2 separate regions of the Homo sapiens genome follow, and region 2 is linked to region 1. Evidence: promoter capture Hi-C in 16 types of primary human blood cells and fetal thymus (Javierre and others, 2016). All regions are on one chromosome and are shown on one strand. The core of a region is centred on a gene start or on the middle of the fragment in contact, and the rest is flanking DNA. Distances in the headings are between cores, read along the strand shown.

Region 1 (2,700 bases), core at 127-2,626:
TATTTCCTTTTCTTACTTTCTATGTTTCTTTCTTTCTGCGTGTCTTTCTTTGTTTCTTCCTGTCTTTCCATTTCTTTCCTTCCTTGTGGTCTTATCAATCTGTTTATTTAGCTCCACTAAAATGTATGCTCCACAAGGGCTTAAGTTTTTGTTTGTTTTCTTCACTGCCTTTATCACTAGCACCTAAACGGAGCCTGGAACGTGGTAATGTGTAAAGAATATTTGTTTAACAGATGAATCCTTGGTCTCATGGAGCTAACATTCTTTTTTTTAATTTTCCTATTTTTTTACTTTAATTAGGAATTCAACATAGAAGAGCTTACATTCTCTCTCTTTGAATTTAAGATTTGAAGAACACTGCTCAGAAGACAGGATCTTAGAGTCAGGGACCAAGTATTAATTTCGGAAATCAAACTCTAGGGCTCAAATCGGGAACTAAGAATCAAAGATCATATTTGGAGGTTAGAAGTCAGGAGAAGCCACAGTTCTAACAGAAGTCTCAGGACTGGAGTCAGGTTTGGGTATCAGTGGATACAATGTGGATTCCAGGAGCTGAGAATCATAGTTCAAGAAAAGAAGGTAAGAAATGATTGGGTTAGGATCATAGCTAGATAGAAGATTGGTTTTGTTAAAAGTTAGGACTCGGGGGTTAGAGGTCAGGAAGTTCAGCATCGGAAGTCAGATTTAGGAGTATGAGGTTAGGAAGCCTCAGGGATCAGAGATTAATGAGGAATGTGACGCCGGGTCCTAGGGCTCCGTTTGGCAGCCTAAGGTTCACTCACGTGTCCCCATCCTCAGTGACGTAGCCGAAGACGAGGGGAGCCCACGACAGCCCCGGGCCCAACTCCGCGCCCAACCCAGGTCCTCCGGGGGCCGCTGCGTCCGGACCCAGGGAGCCCAGGCCGCTGTCGCACCATTCATCTGCGTCGGCAGCTTTTCCCAAGCACGCGACCCCAGCCATGGCCCCCGCCGCCTCAGGGGCCCCCCGCAGTCGCCCGCCTGTAGCTGGGCTTTGCCGGGAGTTCTGGAGCTTCCGCCCTGCGGGAAATTCCCCACCACGCCCCCTGATTCACCCAATGATAATATGCTGAATCGCTCACACCCCGCCCTCGTACTGCATCCTGACCAATCAGAGTATTCGGGAGGACTACAACTCTCTAGCCGTTCCCACATTTTCCGGGCGCCCTTTACCAACATGGCTGCTGACGCCACGCCTTCTGGGACTCGTAGTCCGGTCCTCGCGCGCTTTCTTACCTAACTGGGGCGCTCTGGGTGTTGTACGAAAGCGCGTCTGCGGCCGCAATGTCTGCTGAGAGTTGTAGTTCTGTGCCCTATCACGGCCACTCCCATTTCTGGTGCCGTCACGGGACAGAGCAGTCGGTGACAGGACAGAGCAGTCGGTGACGGGACACAGTGGTTGGTGACGGGACAGAGCGGTCGGTGACAGCCTCAAGGGCTTCAGCACCGCGCCCATGGCAGAGCCAGACCGTGAGTCGGGGATCCGGGTAGGAGGGTCGGGCCGCGCCGGGGCCTGGCTGAATGCTGCAGGCCCCGGGGCCCAAGGGTGGCCGCGGTGGGGCGGGAAGTAGGGAGCGCTTCGGGGAGTGGGATTCTGAGGGCTGTTGCTTAGCGATCTGTATCGCTAGGCTGGTGGGTTTCTGGGTCGCAGTGTGTTCAGGGTTCGTTTACCACATCCACTTGCCAAGTTGCCAATGATCGCGTGTTTCTCGCACCTTGGTTGCTAAGGTCCCTCGCTGCAAAGAACATAAGTTGCCCCGGTCCCGCTTGCTATGGGTACCTGATTGTTAGAGGCAACCAGAGGATGCTGAGGGACCCCTGCTGACCCCTCCTATGGCTTCCCCTTGTTCCGCGCCTCTCCTAAACCTACCGCCTCCACTGCACCACTGCACCTCCCTCCTAAACCTGCCTCCCAGCCAAAGCGTCTCTTCCCTTCTCTTTTCCTTTCTAAACTTCCCTCTGCCTTGTAAATCTAACCCTCCCCGCACACACACTCACACACTGTCGTGTCCTTCCTAACTCCTCCTGAGTGTTCCTTCATGCCCTGAATCCCCTAGGTAGGAGGAGGAGGATCGCTTGAGCCCAGGAATTTGAGGCTGCAGTGAGCTATGATCGCACTATTGCACTCCAACCTGGGTGACATGAGCGAGACCCTTTCTCTAAAAAGTAAAAAAGAAAGAAAGTAAGTCAGGGCCAGAAACAATGGCTCATGCTTGTAATCCCAGTACTTTGGGAGGCCAAGGTGGTTGGATCGCTTGAGCCCAGGAGTTCAAGACCAGCCTGGGCAAAAGCCCCTACTTTCTCCCTGTCCCCCTAAATCTTCCTCTCCAGCCTCTCTGCCCCTCACTAATCACCTCTCCCGGCATCACTTTGCATGTAGATAAGATCTTTTCTCCGTCCCCTCCCTCCCTCTGCTCCATTTTTACCACCATCCCATCCCAGTGTAACTAGGTTGGTGGGTGTTCTTGCCCCCTCACTGACCATTTGAACCCCTTTATTCCCCCCTTAATCGTTCTCCCCACTGTAACCACCTCTGCTCCCCTCCCCCAGCCTCTCACCCTCTGGAGACCCAGGCAGGGAAGGTGCAGGAGGCTCAGGTGAGATGGGGGAAAGGGTGGAGGGGAGGAGAGAGACGGACTTGTTCCACATCCCACACTGGGGGGAGGTGGCAAAGGGGAAACA
Region 2 (2,700 bases), core at 117-2,616, 560 kb after region 1:
CGAGGCCCCGTCTCAAAAAAAAAAAAAAAAAAAAAAATATATATATATATATATATGTGTGTGTGTGTGTGTGTGTGTGTGTCTGTTCATGTACAGGTATATACATATATATGTATGTACAGGTATGTACTATATATGTATGTACAGGTATGTACTATATATGTATGTACAGGTATGTACTATATATGTATGTACAGGTATGTACTATATATGTATGTACAGGTATGTACTATATATGTATGTACAGGTATGTACTATATATGTATGTACAGGTATGGATGTACAGGTGTGTATAGGAGTCAGACAGATAACTTCAAGACTCCCTCCATGCTGAGGGACTATGGGAAAATGGTTCCATCCCTTTGGGACCTCAGTTTTCTCCTCTTTATAATGGAGTATGTGAGAGTACGTCCCCTCGACAGGTCACTGGGGAGATTAATGGGATCTTCATGTGGGGCCTGGCATGAAGTTGGTGCTCCCTAAATGGGATCTGCTGCTTGTCTGGGAAGTAACCAGGGCGTCAGCCTAAGGCCCAGACCATTGTCTTTTTCCCCTGCCATATTCCCTCACCTCCTCTCCCACAGTGAATTGGATGTTATTGTCCCGGTCTCTCTTCAGGAAGCCGTTGATATTCATCTGGAACCTAGCAGCAGGTGCAGAATAGGCGCAGGTGAGGTCCCAGTGTCAGGGGTTCCACAGCTCGTAGCTGCCTCTCCTCTCCCCATTCTCTCCCTTGGATCTCCCACTGGCTCCTCTGGGGACCCTGGGGTGAGGAATTCCCCCGGAGTCCACCCCAGCCCCCGTCTTGGGAAAGGGTACCTTTTATCTGGAATGAAGGTCCCCAGGCCATTGCTGCTGATGTCCACACGCATGACCACACTGCCTTTCTTGATGGGCATGGGCGTGTACCAGCTCATGCTACACACTTCTTCTGCCATGCATGGCTCTGCAGGGAGGCCCTGGGCACTGAAACTGCTGGGGCCTCCCAATGGCCGGTTCCAGGCCCCAGACCACCCTGGGATCTCCCCACAACTCCCCATACCTGCCTCCACGCCATGGGTCCCACTGGGGCCTCTGTGTGGCCCCTCTAGGCCATGGAATGTGCTGAGCTCCCGCCCCCCACATACCCTCCTCAGATCATGGCCCCACAGAGGCCCCCAGCAAACCCCACACCCCTGCCAGGTTGCGATCCCTCCCGCCTCCCCCAGGCCCACCTTTGCTGCGGAAGGGGGCAGCCTCCATCTGGATCTGCAGCTGCTCTATCTTCCAGCGGTAGAAGTTGACTGGGGACTGGAAGGTGACCAGCACCAGGGGCTTTAGCCCCGTCAGGTGGCCCATGCGCACCAGGTCCTCAGAGGGCTGAGGGTGAGATGGCCCCACAAGTGTGTCCTTATGGTAGCCTCTGGGTGCCCCCTGCCTTAAGCCCGCCTCTAACAGTCTGTCTCCTGGGCTGTCCGGGGGCAGCACACTGTCCACCATGTGATGGTCAGAGGACATGGTCTAGGTTTGGGGCTTGGATGGGGGATGGAACAGCCTAGGAGGGGGCAGAGGGGTAAGGGGCTGTGGAGGGAGTCGGAGGCCTTCCTGGAGGAGATGACTCCAGAGCCAGTGTCTGCAGACAGAATGTGCATGTAGGGAATACATAGGGAAGGGCAGCATGGGATGAACAAAACTGTGCAGGTGGGAGGGATGCTGGGAAGGTGGGAGGGATGTGGCACCCAGGGTGCTGCTTTCCACTCCAGGGATTCCCAGTTCCAGGCTTAAAAAAAAAAAATTAGATTGCCCAGGCTGGTCTTGAACTCCTGGTCTCAAGTGAGCCTCCCACCTTGGCCTCCCAAAGTGCTGGCATTAAAGGCGTGAGCCATCTCATCTGGCCCCCAGTCTCACTCTTGAGGTGGGCTTCCACCCTCTCTGCAGCAGACTTTCTGCCACCTATGCAAGTCAGAGGACAGCCAAGTTCTGGGCCTTGAGCTTGGGGTGAGTGTAGGATGGGGCGATTACACAGGAAGGGACTGAGGACGAGGGTGACAGGGCATGCCTGGACAACCTCCCAGGGATGCGGGATCCTGGCTGAATAGAAAAGGGTGGGGAGCGCTTAGAGTGGAGATGGGAGAAGAGGAGAAGGATGTTTCAGGCATGCAGAACAGCACCAGTGAAGGCTAAGAGGCGTCCCCGAGAGAAGGCGGCACTCAGGCCACCAAGGGGAGGCCTTGGTTGCTGTGGGACCAGGGCGAGGGATTTACCAGATTCAGCACCTGTGCACAGCCCTTCATCGAGAGGGCTGACTTTCTTTACTTTCTTTGCCAGGCTCCTTTCTTTTCCTTTTTTTTTTTTTTTTCAAGAAGGAGTCTCACTCTGTCGCCCAGGCTACAGTGCAGTGGCATGATCTCGACTCACTGCAGCCTCTGTCTCCTGGGTTCAAGTGATTCTCCTGCCTCAGCCTCCTGAGTAGCTGGGACTACACACGTGCACCACCATGCCCAGCTAATTTTTGTATTTTTAGTAAAGATGAGGTTTCACCACGTTGGCCAGCCTGGTCTCAAACTCCTGACCTCAACTGATCTGCGCGCTTCGGCCTCCCAAAGTGCTGGGATTACAGGCATGAGCCACCAGGCCATTCTTTCTTTGAAAACTGTTTAATTTTTGTAGAGACAGAGTCTACTCTGTTGCCCAGGCTGGCTATTTCTGTAATTTATTTAT

The links. Contacts are between HindIII fragments. The CHiCAGO score rates a contact against its expected background, and 5 or more counts as called.
Region 2: a contact is called between a fragment that was not itself captured here and the fragment with the promoter of SIRT2 in region 1, in 1 of 17 cell types (non-activated CD4 T cells). The highest score is 5.4, in non-activated CD4 T cells.

Annotation. Positions count from the first base shown.
Region 1 is chr19:38,898,294-38,900,993 of GRCh38, reverse strand. SIRT2 (sirtuin 2) reads left to right here and starts at 1,376. Exons shown (of 16, transcript NM_012237.4): 1 at 1,376-1,488; 2 at 2,569-2,615. The coding sequence starts at 1,473. It overlaps NFKBIB (NFKB inhibitor beta), which reads right to left and starts at 1,025. Exons shown (of 6, transcript NM_002503.5): 1 at 783-1,025. The coding sequence starts at 961. The HindIII fragment of the contact is 23,515 bases long and covers 1-2,700 here.
Region 2 is chr19:38,342,239-38,344,938 of GRCh38, reverse strand. It overlaps CATSPERG (catsper channel auxiliary subunit gamma), which reads right to left. Exons shown (of 29, transcript NM_021185.5): 4 at 1,215-1,359; 5 at 820-946; 6 at 571-643. Among named protein-coding and RNA genes, the nearest start is that of CATSPERG, 7.8 kb to the right of the region's middle. RefSeq lists an enhancer at 645-1,594. The HindIII fragment of the contact is 5,142 bases long and covers 1-2,700 here.